2 separate regions of the Homo sapiens genome follow, and region 1 is linked to region 2. Evidence: promoter capture Hi-C in 16 types of primary human blood cells and fetal thymus (Javierre and others, 2016). All regions are on one chromosome and are shown on one strand. The core of a region is centred on a gene start or on the middle of the fragment in contact, and the rest is flanking DNA. Distances in the headings are between cores, read along the strand shown.

Region 1 (6,074 bases), core at 1,958-4,457, 92 kb after region 2:
TTTACACATTGTCTAATTTAATTTTCACAATAATATAAAGCAAGTATTTTTATTTTTCTTATTTACAGATAAAGGAACTGAGGCTAAGAGAAGTGACCTCTGACACCCAGCTAACTAGTGACAGAGGTGAGATTTGGGCTAGGGGGGTTTGATAGCAAAGGCCATGCATTTGGTCTGTTTTGCTTTTAAACTTAATATACCTTTTTAAGGAAATAACTTGAATGAATCAAGGGATATTAACTTAATTAGGAAGAAATGTATTTACAGAAAAATTGGAACTTTTTTGCTAATTCAGGTGAACAGGTTTTTTGCTAGACTGAATAATGAAGCTTCACTATTCTGAGTGTTTTTCTATTATGACACTACAAATGATTTAATAATTTTTAGAATTTGGATTGTATCCTAATTTTCTAAAAACTGTTTATCTTTTATTAAGATAAAAAATAATCTTAATAATTTGCAAAGCTTTTAATAGAACTAAATTATATGAATTTGAGGCCCCATCTGAAACTCAGCCATGAGATGGCATGCTGAAATCTCCAGGGGAGTGTTAATGCTGGCTTTCACTGGCATCGACAATCCACAGCGAGTGTGCAGGGCAAGGAGAGTTTTTATTTCCAAGTCTAAACCGAATGAAATGCAATTAATTCTGCTGTCTGGGCCGCTGGTGCCCTCTACAGGTCAAATAGATGCTATACAGCTTTAGGTTTCACCTGTTAAAATGTCGTTTTAGCGCTAAAAGAACTCTGGGTCCCATTGCATAGTAGCTTCTTTACAGGGTACTGTCACTCTTATTGGCATAAATAATAGAAATATTGAGTAAAAATCACCTAAATAGCCTCATTCATGTGTCTAGCAGTTGGATAGGTGTTAGCTGGGATGATGGTGATGACGTGTCTCATTCTTCAGCAGCCTAGAGTGGTTATTCATATGGTAGCAGTCACAGGAACAATTGAAAATACCAAAGAGTATGTTTTATTTATGCCTTTCAGTTGCTTATTTAAATTTTTTATATAGTTGTTATATAATTGTAATGCAACACTCATATATCAATGTCTTAAGTTATTCAGTTACATCAAGATGATTATTTCTTTAAAAAAGTATGGGGAGACAGAAGTGGAGATGGCAGTAGTACAAGTTTTATTGTAAAGATCAAATGAAATAAACTATGTAAAGCTTATGGAACATAATAGGTCATCTGAAAGCAATTATTTTTACTTAATCAAATTTTAAAGTTTTATGTGAGAACAAAACAAGCTAGGGTGAGGGTGGAATGGTTGGGGGTGTGAAAAACGTAGGCAACACAGAGGAAGGGCTTACTCAGTCCTCATTTAAAATACCTCATTAAATATATCATGTGTACAAAATAGAAAAAAACACAAAATATAAGCATATTTCAAGTGTAATTAGGGAAAACGCATTTGTGGTCATTATTATGTATTATTTTTCTACATCAGAAATCTAAGTTTTCAGTCTTTGTTTAGAGTAATCCTTTATTGGTTTTTTACATTTTGTAACACAGATTAGTTTGGAGCTCCTAACTTTACCATGGTAAAGAGACAATCTGTAGTTCTGTTTTCTCATCTTTTACATGATAAGTAATAGTGAAGAGTCATAGTGTCCTAACTTCACTTGTTTTTTAAAAAAAATTTTTCTCCCATTTTGTAGGTTGCCTGTTCACTCTGACGGTAGTTTCTTTTGCGTGCAGAAGCTCTTTAGTTTAATTAGATCCCATTTGTCAATTTTGGCTTTTGTTGCCATTGCTTTTGGTGTTTTAGACATGAAGTCCTTGCCCATGCCTATGTCCTGAATGGTAATGCCTAGGTTTTCTTCTAGAGTTTTTATGGTTTTAGGTCTAACGTTTAAGTCTTTAATCCATCTTGAATTAATTTTTGTATAAGGTGTGAGGAAGGGATCCAGTTTCAGCTTTCTACATATGGCTAGCCAGTTTTCCCAGCACCATTTATTAAATAGGGAATCCTTTCCCCATTGCTTGTTTTTCTCAGGTTTGTCAAAGATCAGATAGTTGTAGATAGGCGGCGTTATTTCTGAGGGCTCTGTTCTGTTCCATTGATCTATATCTCTGTTTTGGTACCAGTACCATGCTGTTTTGGTTACTGTAGCCTTGTAGTATAGTTTGAAGTCAGGTAGCGTGATGCCTCCAGCTTTGTTCTTTTGGCTTAGGATTGACTTGGCGATGCGGGCTCTTTTTTGGTTCCATATGAACTTTAAAGTAGTTTTTTCCAATTCTGTGAAAATTTTCGCAACCTACTCATCTGACAAAGGGCTAATATCCAGAATCTACAATGAACTCAAACAAATTTACAAGAAGAAAACAAACAACCCCATCAAAAAGTGGGCGAAGGATATGAACAGACACTTCTCAAAAGAAGACATTTATGCAGCCAAAAGACACATGAAAAAATGCTCATCATCACTGGCCATCAGAGAAATGCAAATCAAAACCACAATGAGATACCATCTCACACCAGTTAGAATGGCAATCATTAAAAAGTCAGGAAACAACAGGTGCTGGAGAGGATGTGGAGAAATAGGAACACTTTGACACTGTTGGTGGGACTGTAAACTAGTTCAACCATTGTGGAAGTCAGTGTGGCGATTCCTCAGGGATCTAGAACTAGAAATACCATTTGACCCAGCCATCCCATTACTGGGTATATACCCAAAGGACTATAAATCATGCTGCTATAAAGACACATGCACACGTATGTTTATTGTGGCACTATTCACAATAGCAAAGACTTGGAACCAACCCAAATGTCCAACAATGATAGACTGGATTAAGAAAATGTGGCACATATACACCATGGAATACTATGCAGCCATAAAAAATGATGAGTTCATGTCCTTTGTAGGGATATGGATGAAATTGGAAATCATCATTCTCAGTAAACTATTGCAAGGACAAAAAACCAAACACCACATGTTCTCACTCATAGATGGGAATTGAACAATGAGAAGACATGGACACAGGAAGGGGAACATCACACTCTGGGGACTGTTGTGGGGTGGGGGGAGGGGGGAGGGATGGCATTAGGAGATATACCTAATGCTAAATGACAAGTTAATGGGTGCAGCACAACAGCATGGCACATGTATACATATGTAACTAACCTGCACATTGTGCACATGTACCCTAAAACTTAAAGTATAATAATAATTTAAAAAATAAAAAAAAACACACTTTAAATAAACCCCCCCAAAAAATTTTTTTTAAAGGCTAAATTAGAGATTCATATAAAAACACCTGACACTTTTCCTGGGCATGGTTCTAAGCTCTTCACATATGTTAACTTATGGACTTTTACAATAATAATTCAAGGTAAGGAGTAGTATTTTTTTCAATTTTCCAAAGAAGGAAACTGAGCTACAGAGAATTTTAATAAATTGCCAAAGATTATACATTTTGTAAGTTTTGAAGCCATCCATGTGGGGCAATCTGGTTCCAGGATATATATGTTTAACTGTTCAACTTTGAAAATTTGTAAAAACAAAAAGTATTATTTAAATCAAGATATTACCATTAGGATTAATATTAATCAGATCATTATTTCTCACATTCAGCTTTCTATGTTAACAAAGTTAATCTGAACAAAATAGGATCATTTAGCATGAGCAAGTCCTATGGTTTTAGGCTCTTGGGTAAGTGTTATTCTTAGATTTCTAGATATTGTAATTCGGGCACCATTCAAACTGAAGGCAAGTTACAGTATTTCTCTTCATTCAAATAGATTTGATTGTTTTGGTTACTTAAGGTTTTCTACAACTTAATGCCACTAAGGCACCACTTGATGGCAGTGGTAACCTGGGTTATGATGTCTATTTAGGTCTGGAGATAAGATGGAAATACAGTGATTTTTTAAAGCTGAATCCAACTAAACATCTATCTAAGATATGGTACTTAAAAGACAAAAAGACATGGTTCACATACATATTTGAATTACAGTTTTATCAAATATAAAACTCTGTGTCCTGCCTCTTTCCCACACCAGATTCATTATTTTAAAAAATCAAACCAAAGCAAAGCAAAAATCAATGTTAGGTTTCTTTGTGGTTGTTCTGATAGCTCTAAGGACTATACCTACGACACTTTTAAAACTATATCAACCTTAAATTTATTTAAATTTCAGCTTCTCCATCTATTACTCAGTTATCACCACTCTCTATGTCTTAGCTGATCACTTCTGCAACTCCAAACATGCAAAACCTCTAATTCTTTACTTCTCACTTATATAATGAGAATACTAATGTTCCCCTTCCCTTCATCATCTCGTCTTACCCTCACTATGCTCTCATTTCTGTCAGTTTTTTCAAAGTTGAGAAAAATTTGTATTCTATTTTATGATAATTAAGTACTGCAGATTTTGCTTATAATTTTAACCTAATAATTAAAAACCAAAGCCTGAGTTTATATCACTATGAGTATAAAAATACTGCTTATTTCAAAGAAGAGTCATGTGCCATGGTTGCATTACCTTTTCTACCAAGGCAATGACACATATCTGTGCCATTAGATGGAAAATATTCCTAGCATTAGGTACAAGTGGATTGTCCTATTTTATCCTGAGACCATTTTTAAATCTCATTGTCAAGGTCTTCTAATGTGCTTGATTGGTATTCTCCCGGTGTTTCCCATTCATTCTCATTTTTATGGTAATTTATTCCTTTAAAATGTATTTACCATCATTTTAATGGGTTCTCATGGGAGTAGGACTAAACAAATAAAATAATGATTAAATAGTATGAGCTACATAATGTTTAATCAAGAGTTGATGTAAAGAGAAACTTTTAAAGGAAACATAATGCCCATCATCATAGGACCAGTAAACTTTAGGGCTAGAAGTCTCTCTGTTATTTTACAAATCAAACCAAAGCAGAATAAATTAATTTTCTAAAATTGCACAAGTTAGTCTACAATGAATATCTTATCTGATGTGATTCTTTATTTCTTACCTAATGACAATTGATTTTAAGGATACCTGATAGCTAATATTTGCTTAAAGCATTTGAATTTGGTGTAATCTATACCCTTTAACCTAATAATGAAAACCTTTAGATCACTTAAGTCAATAGAGGCTTAATAAAGTATTTTATTTTTCATTGTTCTGACTCTTGGACTGTACTTGGTATACTTTAAACTTATACTTTTCTAGACAGAACAGGGAGAAGCTGAAGGCTTTTTACTATGCAAACCTTTAAATATCAGAGTAAGCTTACAGCTAATGTAGTTTTTATTTTCCAATCAGAGATTCCTATGAGAAAAAATATGTTTTTAAAATAAACTCCCTTTCAATGAATAATTTATTAAGCAACATTTCATTTCATTATATTGCAGTTAAATTTTAACCAGAGCTAATGATAAATCTGTGCTGTGGTTTTTCTTTTTTTAGAACATAAAGTATAATTTTGAACTAATTTATCAAAAAGGACAAGATAAACTAATTTATTATGAAACTATAACTTTCTATTCATGACAATGAAGTGGCAAAAAACACAATAAAATATATTTGGACACATTTTTTTCAACGTAGAAATGCAAAAGACATTACACAGTTAATGACTTCACTAATGCCCCTGAGTTATGTGACACTAATTATTTTGTTAGTCTGCCAACACTATGGGGTTTAAATTTTGAGAAGTAAAAACTGCAAATCCAGACTAACACTGCTTTTCAATTAATACTTTATAAGAAAATTAAAATTATATATCTATCATAAATTTTCTCCAATATTACTACTAATGAAATCTTCTTGAGATTGTATTTTCAGAGTTAATGCTCTGTTATTATAAATTCATTAAAAACCAAAAGCTGGAAGAGACCCAAACTCTGGCAACTAATTTCATAATCAAGTAAATGAAGGCATTGGGAGTTTAAATGGCTTCCTCAAATAGGCCAACAACTAATTACTGGTAAAAGTTGAAAGTATCTAACAACATTTTCTAATGTTGTAGTTTTATTTTCATTCTGTTCAAAATATTTAAAAATGCGTCTTTCAACTTCTTTGACATCAGTTTACTCAGAAATTTTAGAAAAATGTCTGAACTTTTTTTTT
Region 2 (6,451 bases), core at 2,398-4,897:
ATGAATAAATAAATACATAAATGGTAATAAGTGCTCTCCTTAATGAAAAATAAAGGCCAAATTTGTATCAAGAGAGTAACATTACTGAAACCAAAATAGCTAGAGAACAGTAAGTCTAACATCCAAATGTCGAATTAAAAAGAATGATGTGAAGGGAGGGAAAATATGGTGAAATGATCAAAATACAGTCCTTACATGAAAAGGTCTAGATTGAGTAGATAAAGGTAATGGCAATAGTAAAGAGATAATTAAAGTAGCAAAAACACTTGATATATCTGAGAGAATCAGATATGACTCAAAGAGTTTATTAGCATCTTTAACTAATCTATAACAGAGACAAAAAAATTTGAGATTGTTTCAAAACTGTTATCTTCAGGTTCATGCATTTACTAATGACTTACCTAAAGTGACTACTTTTAGCATTAAGGAGGATAGTATTGATCTGGGGGTGGTGCTATCTTCTACTGTAACTATTATTTCAGATTCTTTATCTTAATCTGTTAAGAGGAAATTAAGTATTGAAAGGATTCAATAATCAGAGTTACCAACTTGAATACTAAAATCCCCATGTCAGTTTCATATGGTCAGTCTCAAAAGGACATCAATGAATCACTGAAGGATGCACCTATTGTCCTATAAGCAAATGTAATAATGATTTTTTAAAATGCCAACAGTGCAACTACATTTGTTAATAGCATGTCCAGTCTGTTGTCTAACTGCTAGTAAAATTCAATACAAAATATGTGTGTGTGATAAGAAAATACACAAAAATACACCAACATTTTTCTTCCTTTTCCCTTCTGATGTTTAGAAAATTTGCGAACTGGTTTAAACCAAAAGGGGTAAAGGAATGAAATTATTCCTTCAGGCTTAGAGGATTCTGTGCCAAGTTTCATTTCTGGCTACATATTTCTAACCAAGTTCAAGATCCCTGAAAAGGAATACATAAAAGAGAAAATATCCCTTTAACCTCAGTGGAATGACATTAGTAAAGGCTGCTATGGGAAGAGAAAGGCTTTTGCCCTGAGATGGGTGTGCTCCTGGTGTTTGGTTTCCACTGAGAGGATGCCTGCTCTCTCAATGAATCTGAAGTACCTACTAGGATGAGGTAATGGCTGTGCCAGTTTCACTGGGTCATGCTCTTTCAGCACATTCTTTCCCTGTCTCCTCCCTGAGAAGGTGCTGTAAACAAGTCATCCTGAGAGGTGCTGCAGAGAATGAACAATCCTAAATTCAAAATTCTTGAAAACACTGGCCCTCCTATGGCAGTATAGAAGACTAAAGCAGCCATAAAGAAACAGGTTATTTGATTAGAAAAGGGAAAAAAATAAGAGAGGAGATAAATAAAATAAAAATTAATATAACTAAAATATTATTTTATAAAAGGTAGCTCTATTTTTAAATTACTTAGATCTTCAGATGTGTGTTAAGCAATTTTCTACTTATGGTTTTAAAAAAGAAAACTTTGGACATTAAATAATATTGTAGCAAACTGTAAAATATGAAAAATTAAAATTAAATAAACCACAGATAAACAGCATGTACCACTGATCCTAAAGCCACAATGGCTCTGATAATATACAAATCATGAATGCAGATGTACACCTATGATAATCAGATGAAATTACCAGGAAATCAACATAAACATACACACACAAATATAATAATCCTTACTGAATGAGAAAAATGCCTTTTTTCTTGAAGGAAGGGTTCTTTGTGTGCATGGGGCTGGGGCTTTTGGAACATCCATGATTTGCAAATTCACAAGGATTTCTACCAAAATACACCTATTGCCCGGTTAAAGGGCTGCTTTGTGTTATATTCTGATGGAAGGCTGTAATCTTTTCCCTGGGCATAAAATTAAAAGCATTCTAAAGGGCTTCTATTTATTCAATCTATTTGACTGCCAAAAAAAATCATAATTGTCCACAGTGAAATGACATAGTGAAAGAACTATGCTTTTGAACTGGGCTGGTACCTGCAGCTCATGCATGGGACATTTTGCATAATGTGGCTCACATAGAAGGCTTTGTTCTCCATCGCCTCACTGTGGCTGCAAACCTCAATTTCAGTTTGCAATCATTTCCTTTTCTAGACTGATCATTTTAAAATAAATTATACCTTTAACATTTAAATTAGTTCCTTACCAACAGTCATCAATCCCTTTGCCTCACACCCAAAATTATATACCACCCAACAATATTTTTTTGTTTTGCACTACAGATTTTATTCACAACATAATTTCCAAACCCTCAAATACAATTTTAAAAAATCAGTCTCTTAAGTACCTATTTCCTTTTGTAACATGTATATAGTGTATTATACATTTGTGTGCATACTTGTGTGTTTAGGCATTTAAACAAAAACCCTTTACACCGGACTCAATTTTAAAGCGTCTATGTCCTGGAAGCATTGTGCTAAGAGCTTACGACAGATGGCACACAGCAATTGTCACAAACGGGCTTGTTGCTAATGAAAGCTTTTTATTTTCTGACAAAAATCCTGAAGTCCGGATGCCAGGCAGAATAACATTAATTTCCAGTTTTCAAGGATTTTTTTTCTGACTCCATCCATACCCCTCCCCCTATACACACCCAAATATACAGCTCCCCACTCCTAGCCCCCCACACACTCTTTCTTGAAATTTCCATCCTTAAACAAAAGACGAGGTGGGGGAAGGCAGGCAGCCAGCACTGCAGTCCTCCTCTCCCCACCAAAAAAGCCTTTTAAAAAGAAAAGGAAGAAAAGAATAGATGCACTGTAGATTCAGAGGTCCACCCCCAACGTTTAAAAAGAAAAACGACTGTGTGGAAGCCTAACCAGACTCATTTCTTCGTGCCCCGCCCTCCAACACCACCAGGCATTTATTTTTCATTTTCCTACAATTATAAATATCAGTCCTCCTCTCCCAGCTGTTTCTGAAGGAATTACAGAGAAACATGATTTGAAATGGACAAGGCTTCCCTCACTCACTCACTTCCCAGTGTGCAGTTCTCTGCAGCTGGATGAACAAAAAAATCCCCTACCTCGATTTCCTATTTTCCACTATCTTTGTAGAATCCACTCCCCTTCTTTCCACAGCGCAGGTAATACTGGCTTTCGATACACGTATTCTAACCTGGCGTAAGTTTTCAGTTGTTTCAAAGTGGTACCTAACAAGCTCACTCGCTCTTCTACGAAGCCAGGGCTCAGGTACCAGTAGCGTCCGGCCCCCTGCTCCGCAGTGACACCTGGAGAGGACAGGCCCGAATCTTCCGCCAGGTGCACGGCTGGCCACTCGACCAACTACCAGACTGCCTGCTGCGAGTCCCAGAGGACGAGACACAACCCCTCCCCATTCCTATCTCTTTCTACTCAGAGACCGAGGCAAAAGGAGAGGCGCCCTACATAGAGCCAGAGGTGGGGACGGTCTCTTACCTGGGCGCAGAAACTGGATGCACCCGCGGTCGCGACTGCCACCGCTCACGGACTTAGCGCCCTCCGGAGAAAAAGGAGAGGGGTAGAAGGGTTAGGGGAAGAAGGGGAGGGGGGGGAAAAAGAAGGAGAAGGAAGAGAAAGAAGCGGAAGGGAAGTAAAGGAAGAGAGGATGCTGCTGCTGCTGCTGCTGCTGCCCAGAGCCCGCGCAGCCCGAGCGCCCGCCCCAGACTGAGAGCGGCGCCCCCAGCCGGCTCCCAGCGCAGCAGCTCCGCCTCGGCCCCTCCTCCCCGCCCCGCGCAGGTCCCGCCCCGCGCAGGTCCCGCCAGACTCCGCGAGCCCGTGGGCGGCCGCGGCGGGGCTGGCGCTGCCACCGCCGCAGTGTCCGGGAGGGGGAGCACGACCGCTTCGCCTTCTGCCGCAGCCGCCGGCCGCCAGGCGGGGACCGCGAGGTGGGAGCCTCGGAGAGCCCCGCCCAGCCGCTGGCCCGGGCCTTCTCCAGAGCCCTGGTCCCCTCCCGCGACAAAGTGAGGCCAGTGCCCGGGCGGCGGGACAGGCGGGCCTTCCTCACTGGCGTCCTTGGAAAATCGGGGGCAACAGCTTTAGTCTCTCGGGAGCAACCTCCGCAGACCCCCTGCTTCCCTCCCCTGTGTCGCTATGAGGCGGGGTTGCCAGTGGCACCTCACCAGGAAAGCTCACTGGCCTCGCCTCACAAACCCAACCACAGGTGCATCCAGAAAAGACAAAGGAATGTGGGGCGCTTGAGAACATAGAACAACTCTTGTCAGCACTAAAGGAGCAATGGCTGAGGGAGTAGAGAATTCTAGACCCAGCTCTGTCACGAATTAGATTCATTCATTTATTGAGTCAACGAATGTTTATTGACACCTACTATGTGTCAGGCACTCTTCTAAGCATTAGAAACATCAGTGACAGACCTTTCCCACAACCCTAATAAGAAAGATCCCCTCCCTTTATAGTTATTACATTCTAGATAGCCAGACGTATGCTCTAGAGACAGTTCACTTAATCTAACTCTCAGTGTATTCATGTGTCATATGAGAACTAAAAATGACAGCCCAATTCTCTTATGCTTAAAAAGATAATGAATATGAAGGATCTTTGAAGAATGATACAAATACAATGAATTAGAAAGCACGGAAAGTGTTGACCTTGAAATATCACCCTTAAAAAAATTGCCTCTTAAATGCTTTTGAAAGTGAAATGACCACCTGAGAAAACAAATGATTCTTTACCATTCGTACTAAGGAGTATGAATCTTCATAATCAGAGAGCAGCATTTTATTGTAAGTAAGAAAAGTAAGATGCAACTTAGAATTACTTCGAGTGTCTATATCAAGTACTGACAAGGTGTTTTTAAGGTCAGCCAACATACTGAGGTGTGGCTTGTACAGTCTTCACAGTGCTGATGAAACAGCAGCCATAATGTGGTTCTGTCACTTAAATTAACCACAGAATCTTAGAACCTAGAACATTAGAGTTGATGTTTTAGGCAGCTGGTCTAATTTCCTCCATTTTCAGATGGAAAGAGACCCAATGGTGGGAGCCTGCAAGGATTAGAAACCATCACAGAGGAAGCTGTGAAAGCCTGCCCTCCCCAGTCACACCCAGTGCTCTGTGTCCTGCCTCCCCCGCTCTGCTTCATACCATGTGCCAGTGACGCTTGCAGTGAGTTTGGAAGTATCAAGGCACACCCAGGAGCTGGGAGGTTGGAGGAGTTGATGCTCCTCCTCGGAAGATGGCCTTACTGAGAAGGAGGTCTTAGGAGACTAGGAAATCATAGACAGTATGTGGATGGGAGGAAGGAGTAGGCATGCTACCAGAGTGTTAGCAGCTGACATTCATGACCAGGCATGCAGGCGCAGGTGCTCAATGAGAGTAATTTTCCAGGGCCAGGAGCGGTGGCTCACACCTGTAATCCCAGCAGCTCAGGAGGGAGTATCGCTTGAAGCCAGAAGTTTGAGGGTGCAGTGAGTTATGATTACACCACTGCACTCCAGCCTGGGTGACAGAGTGAGACCCTGTCTCTAAAAAACAGCAATAAAAAAGACATTATTTCTCTGATAGTTTAAAGTACAGTGTTCCTCAGCACTTTTTGTTTTTGTTTGTTTGTTTGTTTGTTTGTTTTTTCCTCCACTTTAAGATTAGCTGAGGCAGCCAAACTCTAATGGCTTTTCTCTTTGGGGAACCTGGTCCTTATATGGGAGATTGCCTCCTCTCGACACACATCTTAGAGTTCTTTCAGAAAAATAGCATCTATATGTTGTAATTCAATAGAGAGAATTTAATATGGGGAACAAATTACAAAGGATTCAAATGACTAAAAAGCCAACTAGGGGATGATGAGGCAACACGATGATAGTTACTAGCAGGAAAGTACTACCACTCTCAGGCTGGGGAGTGCTAGAGAGGAGGCTTTACCAGGAATGAGGAGCACAAGCTACATTAAAGGAACTGAGACCACAGTGGAGATGCTTACTGGGAGACAGATAATGCTGGAGGGTCCTCCAAAAGCTGAGAGTGAAAAGAAATATTGTGGCCCTCCTTTAACCTGTATTTCAAAACCCTGTCATTGGGTGAACCTAGAAGAAAGTCAGTTGACAAAGCAGCCTAAGAAATACAGTTTGCAGGAGTCAGTGCCCTGGGATGTCAAACAACTTTAGGAGGGGACTCCATATGTTTAGGCTTCTGGTTTAAGGAGGGATCTTTGTGTTGAAGTGAACTTTTTTTTTTCCCTCAGCAAAGCATCCCTTCCTTAGAGTAATGATCCTTTTCATATGATTCCCCATATGCTAGTAAAATGTGTGCCTCTCTTCTCTTTCTCAGAGGTGGACATGTGACCCTGGCTAACTCTATAGTAGAACCTGTTCTCCTAATGTATAGTGATTGATACAGGGTGGTCATATGTCCCAAATATTTCCAATCAGGCTTTTTTCCATGAGATGTGTCATATGAACAATAGTGAATCGGATGGTATAGGTATAGAGTTGTCAGTGACTGTATTTCCTTCCATGCA

Evidence for each region. Contacts are between HindIII fragments. The CHiCAGO score rates a contact against its expected background, and 5 or more counts as called.
Region 1: a fragment that was not itself captured here is called in contact with the fragment with the promoter of MAP2 in region 2 in 2 of 17 cell types (megakaryocytes and endothelial precursors); the score reaches 8.6 in megakaryocytes.

What each region holds. Positions count from the first base shown.
Region 1 is chr2:209,329,227-209,335,300 of GRCh38, reverse strand. No RefSeq gene overlaps it. Among named protein-coding and RNA genes, the nearest start is that of MAP2, 92 kb to the left of the region's middle. The HindIII fragment of the contact is 4,057 bases long and covers 1,179-5,235 here.
Region 2 is chr2:209,421,243-209,427,693 of GRCh38, reverse strand. It overlaps MAP2 (microtubule associated protein 2), which reads right to left and starts at 3,647. Exons shown (of 16, transcript NM_001375505.1): 1 at 3,418-3,647. RefSeq lists a silencer at 3,577-3,966. The HindIII fragment of the contact is 4,087 bases long and covers 2,482-6,451 here.